2 separate regions of the Homo sapiens genome follow, and region 2 is linked to region 1. Evidence: promoter capture Hi-C in human tissues and cell types (Jung and others, 2019). All regions are on one chromosome and are shown on one strand. The core of a region is centred on a gene start or on the middle of the fragment in contact, and the rest is flanking DNA. Distances in the headings are between cores, read along the strand shown.

Region 1 (6,466 bases), core at 2,451-4,950:
AACTTTGGGATTACTGGAGAAAAGAAAGGAGTAAACATGTAACTGGCATTAGAGACTAAGTTTAAATCTCTCCCCCTCTATAATTCTGACATGCCAACATCCCAACAACACCCTAAGGTGGCTGTCAAAGACTCATACCCCAGAAAATCAGCCATCTCTACTAGCAGCTGCAAGAACAGCACTTACCCTAACAACATGTCCCAAGCAGTAATACCCAGATGTGCCATCACCAACATCTCATAGGTTAGCACGTGCAAACAGTTACAAGATCACTTTCCTCCTACCTCTTTTCTCTGGATGGGAGTTAGGGAAAGAAGAAAGCAATGAGATCTGGGGTTAGTGCTCCTTCTTCGAAGGGAGGAAATATATTTTAAACCTCAGTTGCCTTTAGAGAGAAACATAATTTACCACTTCATGGCAAAGAAACACTGTTGGTTATATTCTGGGGTTGAATTCAAACCCAAATAAAATTTCCTGGCTAAAACATACACTAGAGAGTAGAAGCAATAAGGCGAAAGCAGAGAGGGGAGACACCTCTGCTTACACACTCTCTGTAAAGGTTCAGACACCTTTACAGGAAGCACCCCTGCCTGTCTCCTGGAAGACCAGCATTGTCTCACTCTGCAGAGCACAGGAGTAATCTGCTGTGGGTGCTGTGGGAGGCAGCGACAGGGGATGCAAATGGGATTGCAAAGGTTAACACTGTTTTACCTAGTAAGACAAGGTCTCCCTAATCAACTTGGCAAAGGGTGGGTTACACAGGTTTATTTTGTACAAGACTTCTTAATAAGGTAACGGGCATCCTAAAATATCAAAACAGCTTTCCTAAGTCATTTCGCCTAAACTTTCACATCTATAGCACCCTTGAAAGGAAGTTTTTTGGCTTTTACTTAAAAACTTTAGAGTTGCAGTGGTCATTCCTCATACTACATAAGTAAAAGTCTTAAAAGTAGGTTTGTGGTTTCCCCCAGGATTGAACCATAAACCACACCCAGTTAAAAGTCATGCATCTCTGTATAGGAAATGACTGAGGCCTGCTGGGAAGTACTACCCATTGACTCAGTCTAACCTTCTCATTCAGACCTGGTCCACACACCCAGGCCTGAACGCTCTGGTCAGAAAATAGCTCCTCTTCACTGCTGGAAACACTCATGTAGCGATAATTGAAGCTGGCCCTTACCTGGGGGCTGTGCCTCTGGACACTGAACTGGGGGTTGCCTGCGAAATGGTCACAATGTCTTCATCCCCTCCGTCCTCATAAAAGCTCGCTAGCGCGATCTGAAACAGAGAGGTAGTACCTTGGGACCCTTAAACAGGCCTTCACCTAACGCACATCTCCTTTGAGCACAAAGGAATACAGACATGGCCAACACTTACAAGGTAGCTTGCATCCATGGGCCAAAGAAAATTAGACCAGAAGGTTAACAGCTCAGCTGTTAGTCTTCGTGTCAACTGAAACAAATTCCACCCACTAAGGTGAAAAGAAGGCAGTAAGAATGGCTGGGGTGGAAGACACTCTTTATTCTCATTTTATGAAGAAACGTGATCTAGTAAAAGTAGCACACATTTAGTGAGCATTTACATGCCAGGTTGTTCTGAGCATTCTACATACGTTAATTTGTTTAATCCTCAAGAACTCTATGCTATTAGTACTCTTATCATCTCATTTTATAGTTGATACAGAAGCACTGAGGATTAAAAAAAAATTTGTTCAAGTTTACACAACTGGTAAAGAGAGGAGCCAGGTTCCATCCCTGCTAGTGTGCTTAGGCCCTCACTCTTAAGCGCTTCCAGTACAGCCCGGAGTCAGGAACTGTGGAGTCAGTCCAGGTTGCTACTTTTCCTTTCTTTCAAGTTGTTTCCTAATCTGTGAAATGGGGGTACCTGTCTCACCAACCTGCACACTGGATGAGATAATCCATTAAGATTTATGCATACTCGCATCTTAGGTTTACACATACAGAAGGAATATGGGAATCCTTTGGTCATTTGTGACATCTCTGTCACCAACTCAACGGACAGGCATTCACTAATCACTTGCTTTGCACAAACACAAGAAAGCATTGAGGTCACAGAGATGAAATAGACATGGCCTCTGTCCTCAGGGTCACCAACTTCACAGGAGACAGTGAGCTGTCAAGGGATAAAAGTAATCTGCTGGGAGGCAGTGTGCTGTCTCAGGCCATGTAGTGAACTGGCATTCTCAGGGAGCCTACATTCAAGTCCTGTTCCTGCCAGGCAAGTCACATGCATGATCCTCAGTTTCCCCACTACAATGTGAGGGGAACGAGACAGAAGATCTGTTGGTCACAACACTGTGTGCTTTTAGGTCTTTCAGGTAGAAACTTTTTATTTCTGCCCAGCATAGGGGCTTCCCATTGTGTCTAGGTGTGATCTAGGTGTGATGCTTTACCGAATTCTTATGTTTGGGGAGTAATTTACGTTTGGCAGCAGACTCAGTTCAAATTCCAACCCCGCTACTTACTGGCTATGTGACCCTGAGCAAATTCTTTGCCCTCTGTGCTTCCAATTCCTCATCCATAAAATGGGTCTAGTCTTTACCTCATAGTGTTGCTAGGATCCAACGAATCATATTATGTAAAGTGCTTGGCACATGGTGGTTTAAAGCTTGGGCTCTGTCTGCTTGCAATCAGACAGAACTGGGTTCCACTTCTACCTCTTCTGCCTGGTAGCTAGTGAGGCCTTGAGCAAGTTACTTAACCTCTTTAATCTCAGCTGCAAAATGCGAAGGTTAAATGACAAAAGACATGTAAAGCAGTCAGAACAGCGCTTGGCTCATGGTAGGTACTCAATAAATATTAGTCATCACCGTCATCATCTACCTAAGACGAAGCTGGCCAAGAATATTTATGCAATTCTTTCTACAGTTAATTACCGAATGCTTATTATGTGCCAGGCATTGTTCCAGGCACTGGGAATTCATCAGTGTACAAAAATCCCTGCCTCGTGAAGCTTAAGTCTTCTTAGCAAGTATTTAGTGAATACTCAGTACGTGCCAATGAACTACACAGCAATTTCCACGAGACTCCCATTTTACAGATAAGTTAACTACGCAAGGTGAAGAAGCTCCAACCTTGCGCCACCACCCCAGAGGTATTCTCCCAGCAATTAGGAAGGCTGGGCGGCGGTCAACTCCCGGGCTGGACTTCGGAAGTGGAAATGAGCGGCCACCTAGTCCCGAGTGGGGCTTCACCCAAGAGCTGCTCACTCGGACCAGCCCGGCCTCCAGCAGATACTCGGCGCGGCAGCCACGCCCCCAGGCGCTCCCTCTCCTCGCCGGCTGCCGCAGCGCCCGAAGTCTCGCTGACGCCGCAAGCGGGCGAGGCAGGGTGAAACTGGCACGGCAGAACTGGCTGGGGCTGGCCCGCGTTCCCCCACTCCCAAGCCGAGCAGGCGACGCGTGACAAGCGGTCCCGGGACCATGAGGCCTGGGTCGGGCCGCGGTAGAGCGGGGATGACTGTGCGCTTCGGCCGCCGCGGGCTTAAGGCACCAGGCGCCCGCTCCCAGCAGTCCCCGGCCCACCCGACACAGCCCGCCGCGCGGCGCTACCTGCAAGTCCCAGCCGGCCGACTCGAGAAAGAAGCGGGCCCGGTCCTCCTCGGCGCCCGTCACCGCCACGAACTCCCTCAGCGCCTCCTGTCGCTCCGCCGCCATCTTCGCCCCGTGCGCCTTCCAAAGCGCTCCGGCGGCCGCCGCACAGGCCCAGCCCCGCTGCCGCGTTCCGCTTGCCGGTCGACGAGGCCCAGCCGATGAGGGCCCAGCAGCTGGGAGCCCGCCCGCAGCCCCGCCCCACGCGGTGCCTCACGCAAAGCCCTCCGTGCGGGAAGCCCCGCCGCTCCGCGCCCTCTGGCGACCGCGGCGCGAACCGCAGCCTAACGGCGGGGGTGGGAGCCCGAAGGATGAGAGGCGGGGCGGGTCTTACATACACCTGTGGGCTGAAGGCTCCCTGCAGGAGTCAGATTCCCAGTTATTCATTGACGCAGCCCTCATTTCATTAATTGTGCATTCGTTCATTCACTTACTTGTCAAGCATTTACTGAGAGCTATCAATGGCCCGACGTTTTTCTAGGGCTGTGGATATGGCAGGGAGCAAAACAAAGTCCCTGCTCCCATGCTTCTTACATTCTAGGGGTAAAAATTCAGACCTTGAACAGGCTAGGCCTCCGCTCACAACACGTCCATGCCTCGTTATCTCGCCCCGCATAAAAGACAGTCTCATGGCCTGCCTGCAGGACCCATGAGAGATGGGCCAGTTCCTCCCTCTCATCAAGGGATCCGCTAGCTTCCTCTGCTCCAGGCGCCTTGCCCTCCTTGCTGTTCCTGGAACTTGCCAGTTATCTTGCATTTGCCTCAGGGCCGTTGCATTAGCTGCTTCTGTGCCTGGAGCACCTTTCCCTTACCGATGGGCAAGGCGCTCTCCCCGCTTTCTTTGGGCCTCTGCTCCAAGGCCACTTTCTTAGGCACAATCCTGTCTTCTGGGTCCTCAGCTTCTTTGCCCTCTTGCCTCTCCAAAGAGGAACTTACTTGTTCAGCTTACTTGTTCTTTGTTCTCTATTTTCAAAGCCTAACTTCCTTGTTCTTTGTACCTCCTTACCCCTAGTTACGGTAAACAACCTTCCCGCGGGTCCTAATCTATAACTCACATCTGTTCCCTTGGATACCCTCGCTACAATTGCCATTCCCGCGGAAACTCTTCTTCCTGCCGAAACCGCTTGCCCTACCACTGTAGCCCACATTTCTGCTCCATTTGAACTAGCCAATCGGGATTAGCTTAGATTGCGCAGTCCAGCCCCAGCCAATGGGAACAGGACACAGAAGCAGCGACTAACCGCATTAGGGATAAAAACCCCTTCTCTCTTTTGTTCGGTGTGCTTTCCTGAAGACCAGATGTGTGAGTGGCACCCTTCTGCAGAAGTAAATTGGCTTTGCTGAAAAATCTTTTATTTCAGTGCTGGTTTTCCTTGAGACTTCGAGCTTTAATTTCCAACACCACCGTGGGACACTCTTCCCTTCCTCTTCCTCTGTCGGCCCCTGCTCATTCTTCAGCTCTCAGTTCAGGTGTCCCTTTCTCAAGGAGACCTTGAGAAGGTGCCCAGGCTTAGTCAAAACCCCTCTTAATCAGGTTATGAACAGCACAAAGTCCAGTCTTCCCTCAATTGACACAATAGTTGCTTTCCTGGAAAATTCGGTGTCTTATTAACACTGTGCAAGAAATCCTTTAAGTTTATATGACAAACGAGTTAGGGCTTGGGTTAGGTTATTAGGAGCATGGTTGCAGCCACAATAGGCCCTGGCAGGAGGCATGGGAGGAGGGTCCTTTCTTTGTGGTGTGAGACTCTCCTTTCTATTGCAAGGCCACCCAGGACCAGCCCCGGTCCCTAGGACTTACCCCTTTCATCATTGTGTCAACTCGAAATGCACCCCAACTTTCCAGGAAGTCCAAGAAGCTAGAGGCTCACTCTGGACCTCACGATTGGCAACCAGTAAGGTCTTTCTACCCTGGAAACTGACAACGACTAACCCCAGCTTAAAGATCTGCAGGCGATCAGCTCCTCAAGGTCCAGTTCCCTGGCTGGTATTGGAGTCATTGAAACTCATTGTCACCCCCCCTCTTCATTTTTGTGCCATCAGGGAAAGCTCTTTGTTCGGCCAGAGGGTCCCTGATCCCTCTTCTAGAGGACTTGAGGGCATCCTTTCCCATAACACTACCTGGCAGCTAGTGTTTACTGAGCACTTACTATGCCCCTAGACACTCTGCAAAGAGCCTTAGATACACTAACTCATGCACCCTATGAAGTGAGTTCTATTGTTATCATTTCCATTTTGCAGATGGGGAAACCTAGACTTCTAAAGAGTTTTGAATCCAGGTATGGCACAGCTCCTGAGTCTGCTTCTAACCGCTACACCACACTGTCTCTCCTTAGACTGCAGGACTGTGCTGGTCACTTCCTATGGCTGGTTTCTGGAAGCAGCTCCAGATGACCCAACTGGAGTTTAAGGCAGGGGATGTGAGGGCATGAACTTGAAACTACATTTACATAACACTTATCTAAGTGTCCTTAACAAAACTAGAGAAGGAGGTGCTGCAGGCTCAGCTTTAGCTCCACTCTCCTATGTCCAACCACACCAGCCCCCAACCTCCAGCCCCATCCCACCCAAGCCCCATCCCCAAATTCTACCACCACGACCACCTCCAGCCTCACCTCTACCTCACAGATCCGCCACCAGCACCTGACCCACCCCGCCCCACTTTCCCTTCTAACTCCACCCTCAGTACTAAATGCACCCCACCCTCCAAAGCCCACTTTCACTCCATTTCACCCCCAGCCCCCTCCGGGCTCATCTCCATCTTCCTTCCCACTCCAGTCTCACCCCAGCCCCTCCCTTTAATCCTATCTTCCACCACCTCCCGCCCCACCCCAGCCTTCCTTTGGCACCCCCTCT
Region 2 (6,466 bases), core at 3,241-5,740, 170 kb before region 1:
GATTCTGAGAGTGTGTTAGTCCCTGTTGGTACCTGGGGTAAATGCCAGGGGATTAGGCATTTACCTAATCTTACATCCAGGATCCAAAGAATCAAGGCAGAAATCTGGAAAAAATGAGAATTTTTAGGGATGGAAGTCTCACCATTTTCCTCATCCTGTGATGCTTTAGAGTTGGAAGCTTGGGAGAAGGGGGAAGGGAGAGAAGCCGGACTGAGGCTTGACAGCTCTATCAGTCAGGAAGCCCAGGGAAGCATATGCTGTGGCCAAGGTTGCTGAAGGGCCTCCATCTGCCAGGAGCCACTAGCCAGGCAGCCACCAAGCTGGGGCTGGCACCACTGCCCCTCCGTTCCTCACATTTCTCCATGGGTGTCTGCAGAGGGGCAGCCGTGGAGCAGCTGGGATGGTGGAAGCATGGGAACCAGTGTTCCCCCTACTACTCCCTACCCAGACGGGAGGCCTGCCAGACATTGCCCTGGAAAGCCAGCCCAGGTCACTTGGCCTAGCAGAGTTTGCCAGTCATTTCAGAGTCACTCATGCCTGGGCCTGCTGATGTCCGCTGAGGTGATAAAGCAAGAATTATTTCTGAAGAAGGGAAAAAGAGAGATCTCCTTCGACAGGTAATAGTGATAGCAAGAAATGTTCAGTCCTCTAATTTCCCAAGAACTACCCCCATCCCTCCATTCATTACCTTGGTTGGATCCCAAAGAGACAGCAGGGCCAGGAAGGTGGCGCCTTCCTGAGTGAATGCATGAGACAGCTGAGACGAACAGAGGTCAAAGACCCAAGGTCACCAAGATGGACGATGTGATATGGCTCAGAGGAGCTGAGGGTCTCTCAGTGGTGGGCTTGCACAGCAGCTGGGCTGCTGGGTGGGACGCAGCAGTTGTTGGAAGAGGAAAGAGCAGTGCTCCTCATGGAAAGGGCTTCTCCTTTGCCTGCGAGGCTGATTCTTAGAGGAACAGGGAAAGTCACTAGTTAGGGAGAAGGCACATGAGGAATTTCTTTTTCTTTTTTTCTTTTTTTTTTTGAGATGGAGTCTCCACTCTGTCGCCCAGGCTGGAGTGCAATGTCGTGATCTCGGCTGACTACAACCTCTGCCTCCCAGGCTCAAGATATTCTCCTGTCTCAGCATCCCGAGTAACTGAGATTACAGGCACCCACCACCTCGTCCAGCTAATTTTTCTATTTTTAATAGAGACAGGTTTTTGCCATGTTGGCCAGGCTGGTCTTGAAATCCTGACCTCAGGTGATCCGCCCACCTCGGCCTCCCAAAGTGCTGGGATTACAGGTGTGAGCCACCGTGTCTGGCCAAGAATTTCTTTTTAAACGACTCTCTGTAGTATGCTTACCTCTTATGTCTGTGATGCCCTGCTTTTATGGAAGTATGACCAGCCCAAAATGCAGGTATATACCTGCTCATCTCCATTGTGGTATCTTAGAGTCTCATGGAAAAGTAGGTTTTTTCTTTTATGCAGCAGAATGATAAGTGTCCCAGGTCTACTGTATTATGAGACCTTCATGATGCAGTAGAAATGCAGGTGCCCATGACCTGGAAATCCAGGGTCCAGCCCTTGGTGACTCTTGTAACCTCTGAGGCTTCAGGTTTCCCATAGATCAGATGGACTAGTCTCTACCTGGCCTCCCTCTATGGGGAATTTGTGTGAGGATTCAACGAAGTTGTGAATATGCAAGAGCTTTAGGGGCAGCCTCAGCTACCAGTCTCCTCCAGGCTGACCCAAAGTCTAGGGAAGCATCCTGGGCCCAGCTACCTGAAGTCAGGTAGAGGGGGGGCACTGGCTCTTGCTCCCCTTCTGCTGCAACTTGCTGAGCCATTCTGGAAGAGTCTCTACCCCTTTCTGGACCATGCCTGTCTTTTTATTAATGCAACGGTTCATTTAAATACACACACACACACACACACACACACACACACACACACACACACAATGGAGTCAGGGGCATGGTGGCTCACACCTGTAATCCCAGCAACTCAGGAGGTGACGCTGGTGGATGGCTTGAGGCCAGGAGATTGAGACCACCAAGAGCAACATAGTGAGACCCCACCTTTAAAAAAAGTAAAAAATAGATTAGCCAGGTGAGGTGGCTACTGGAAAGGCTGAGGCAGAAGGATCGCATGAGCTCAGGAGTTTGAGGCTGCAGTGAGCTATGATTTTGTCACTGCACTCCAAGCCTAGGTGACAGAGTAAGACCCTGGCTCTAAAAAAAAATTAAATATATATCACATGTATTTTTAAAAATTTGTTTTTTATTGAGATATAATTTACATTCCATAAAATTTATCCTTTTAATAGCCAGATGCAGTGGCTCACACCTGTAATCCCAGCACTTTGGGAGCAGGGAGGCCAAGGTGGGTGGATTGCTTGAGGCCAGGGGTTCAAGACCAACCTGGCCAATATGGAGAAACCCCATCTCTACTAAAATATACAAAAATTAGCCAGGTGTGGTTGTGCGTGCCTGTAATCCCAGCTACTCGATAGGGTGAGTCATGAGAATCACTTGAACCCGGGAGGCGGAGGTTGCAGTGAGCTGAGATCGTGCCACTGCACTCTAGCCTGGGCGACACAGTGAGACTCTGTCTCAAAAAAAAAAAAATTAAGTTTTTAAAATGTACAATTCAGGGATTTTAGGATACTCACAAAATTATATAACCATCACCACTAGCTACTTCTAAAACGTTTTTTATCTTCCCAAAAAAGAAACTCCATTCCCATTACCAGTCATTCCCTGTTCCTTCTTCCCTTCCAGTGTGTTTTCTGTCTGTGTGCATTTGCCTGTGCTGGATATTTCATATAAATGGAATCATGCAATATGCGGCCTTTCGTATCTGGCTTCTTTCATTTAGCATAATGTTGTCAAGGTTCATCTGTGTTGTAGCATGGATCAGTAATACTTCATTCCTTTTATAGCTAAATATTCCATTGCATAGACGCATCACATTTTGTTTATCCATTCTTCTATTGGTGGACATTTGGGTTATTTCCACCTCTTAGCTATTAAGAATAGTGCTACTGTGAAGTACACTTCTTATACAAGTTTTTGTTTGAGCATCTATTTTCCATTCTTTGGGGTATATACCTAGCAGTGGAATTGCTGGTTCTTATGGCAATTCTATGTTTAACTTTTCGAGGAACCACCAAACTGTTTTCCATAGCAGCAGCGTCATTTTACATCCCCACCAGCAATACATGAGAGTTCCAACTTCTCCACATCCTTGACAACGCTTGTTATTGTCCATCTTTTTTATGCTAGCCATCCTAGTGAATGTGAAACAATATCTCATTGTGGAAAATAAGTATTCCATAGATTTTTAACCTGAAAAATCCTTTTTAAAAAGTAGTCTTACTTCACACCTTCCATATGTAAAACACATACGAGAGGAGCCTCTTCAGGTGAAATGGGGGAGGAGGCCCAAGCCACCCCTCCCAGTAGGTGCAGAGGCAAGTCCTCTTGGGTGGTTTGAAGACCTAGGCTTGATGCCCTTCAGCTCTGGAATCTGAGTCTAATCACTGGAGACACATCCTGTGTAGCAGCTGCCTCAGCCCTCAACCTATGCTGGTTGCCTGGGGAAGCTTCTCACAGCATTTGGCCAAGTTGTGGGTCTGCCTTGCCGCTGTGTTGGGGTTGCCACAACAGTGAGAAGAAGTCGGATGGCGCCTCATGTGTGGTCCCAGCTTTGAGGGTGGCTTGTGTGGGAAACAGGAAGCAAGCTGGAGAAATGCCAGCAAGTCCTGGAAGGAAGATCCTAGGTTTTGTTGACAAAGGAGGAGCAGAGGCACATAGTGGCTGATGAGGCCATAGCCAGTGCAGGGTTTACTGAACTCCTCAGCTGTGAATAGCCCTGGTAGTGCTAATCTTCTGAGATCTAGAGTGTGGCTGCTGGAACACTCCCAGGCCTGTCTTCTATTCCCACCTCTCTGCATTAGCATTCTAGGAGCACCAGGCACTCTGCTGTCTGATGGGTGGAATGTTCTGCGTTCTAGTGTTACCTTGGCAAAGAGAGGATCCCTCCCAAGTTCTGCTCTGTTGATTGCAATGCTCTGCTTTCCACAGCTGTCAGTGGTTTGAGTCATCAGACACAGATTGTTCTGTTCCCTCGGATTTTAGGATAGCTTTCTTCTTGTATCAATGGCTAATTCTTTGAAAGAAGATAAATTATAGTACATACAGGGACTTTTGCTTAGCTGGAATATTAGATTAACCCAAGCACCTGGTTTTTCCCCCATGACTGTTGATTGGGGAAAATGCTATCATGTCTCTTTGAAGAATGGAGCTTCCTAATTTTACATATGTGGAAACTGAGACCCGAAAGTCCTAGTAATGAAGGAGAAAGAAGCATCAATTAGAAGCCCATAATTTCATTGACAGCTCTAGAATTAGAGAATGTTAGATCCAGAGCACCTTAGAGACCATCTAATCTGACTCTTTGGTCTATTCAATGTGCTTGTTTAAACCATTGTATTACCAACAGTTGTGTGTTGATTGTGTTTGTTTTTATGAAGTTTCCCAGGGGATGGTGTTCCCTGAGTTTTAGTCTAAGGCATAGCATCCTAAGTGGTCAAGACAGTAAGTGATAGGAGAAGTCACTGGTGGAAAGGCTGTGGGTGGGACCTAAAGAAAGAGTGCAATGTATGCCTGAGGACAGGCAGGGAAGATGCTGCAGATGGGACAAACAGCCCATGTAGAGATGCAGATTTGGGAGTGACTAGCCGAGGTCTCCTGGATGTATCAGAGAGCCAGTTGGAAAGGTTGTAGATGAGAGGGCCTTAAGCACCCACATCAAGAGCTTTGCTCTGATTTTTACCTAATCTGGGACTTCCAAGGAATTTTGAACAGGGTCCAGGCCCTTTTCTCCATTGTTCCTGCCATGACCCTGGCCCAGGCCCTCCTAATTTCTCCCCTGGTTGGTAACCTCCTAACTGGTATCTGGTATCCCTCCCTCTCCACACAGGCTCCTTATCAGGAACTTTCTAAAATGCAAATATGATTGTGCCCCTTTCCTATAAAGCACTTGCATGGCTTCCTGTTGCCCACAGGACAAGATCCTGGCTTAAGTGGCTCTGTGTGGCCTGCCCCCCTCCTTCTGCAGCCTCACTCCCACTGTACTTCTGCCCTCAACAGGCTCCCTAGTTTCTGAGCAGCCAGCTGTCACTCACTGCCTGTGTCCAGACTTCTCCTTCCCTCCCATTTTCTGCTGCCACCTGGTGAACTCTTATTCATCCCTCAAGACCCAGTGCAAATTTCTTGTGTAGAGAAGCGTTCCTGGATCCTCCTGAAGACACTATTATGGCTTGAATGTGTTTCTGTTTTGAAGCTCACTTCATGTTACTTCCAAAATACTGGCTGCCCCCATGTTTTAGTGTTTATTGTGTGATAGGCACTGACCTAAGCCCCATACTCACATTATTTTATGTTATTCTCACAGTAACCATATGAGGTGCATTCATTAGAGCCCCAGTTATTACAGATATGGGCAGTGAGGCTCAGAGAAGTGGGTGACTTGCCCAAGGCATGCAGCTGAAGGGTGCCAGAGCTGGCATTTGAGCCCAGATCAGTTCATATTGACTTCTGCAGTCATTAGTCTCATGCTCCCTGGACCCCCATTGTCGGGGGGGTTAGGAAGTGTTGAGCATTTGAGGGAGCAGTCAAAGGAGTGGATGCAGCAGGGTTGCTATGGTGTGGACAAGATGGGGAAGTGGAGGGAAGTTCAGTGAGGGCAGGGGCTGGGTTTACTCTGGGGTTAAAGTGATGAGAGACTATCAGCCCAGCTTCCCACAGTTAAGGGTTTTCTTTCTACCTTCCTTTCCAAGTGGCAGCCTCTGGCCACCTGGGGAGAGGCCTGCGGGACTCCAGGCTAAGCAGGTGGCATGGTGACAAACACCATGGCAACCTGCCTCCTTGCTAGGGCCTAGAAGGGAGGGAGGACCTGAGAGAGCACAGGATGCACACTGAGTTTTCTGAGTAGGATCCTGAGAGGTGGCTCCCTTTGGGCCTGGGTGGCTTCTGCCCTCCCATGAGGGACCCTGCCTGCAAGGTCCCATCCCAGCAGGGGAAATGCGTCTTCCACCTTTGTCCCTAATGAATACCTGGCTCTGGGTGCCCAGGAGACTGTTAGCTATACGCAGGTACAAGTGCCACCCCCTTCCCTCCCCCAGGCCAGGGAGGAAGGAAGAGGGAACTCAAGAGGAGGCAGGTGTGGGGTAGCCAAGCAAGATAGTGGCAGGGACAGCTGGGACAAGGCCCTCATTGTAGCAAGGCCACACGCAGCTCCAAGACAAACCAGGCATTTTGCCTGCCTCCCAGGACTGGGCCTAGCACTCTGCCTGGACTTTCCTGGCTCCTTAGAACACTCACTCACACTGGCTTGGAAGAGCCCATCCTCAGATCTGAGTCCTGCCTCTGCTGGAAAGTCCTCCTGAAGGCTCAGCCTCCTTTTTGCATCCTCCCA

What was found. The method cuts DNA at HindIII sites, captures the fragments that hold promoters and counts their contacts. A contact is called where the count stands out against the background at its distance.
Region 2: a contact is called between a fragment that was not itself captured here and the fragment with the promoter of NSFL1C in region 1, in 1 of the 25 tissues and cell types used here (mesenchymal stem cells).

The regions. Positions count from the first base shown.
Region 1 is chr20:1,463,149-1,469,614 of GRCh38, forward strand. It overlaps NSFL1C (NSFL1 cofactor), which reads right to left and starts at 3,701. Exons shown (of 9, transcript NM_016143.5): 1 at 3,572-3,701; 2 at 1,181-1,278. The coding sequence starts at 3,676. RefSeq lists an enhancer at 2,930-3,431 and a silencer at 3,726-3,995. The HindIII fragment of the contact is 15,990 bases long and covers 2,801-6,466 here.
Region 2 is chr20:1,287,612-1,294,077 of GRCh38, forward strand. All of the region lies in intron 2 of SNPH (syntaphilin), which reads left to right. Among named protein-coding and RNA genes, the nearest start is that of SNPH, 25 kb to the left of the region's middle. The HindIII fragment of the contact is 5,213 bases long and covers 1,885-6,466 here.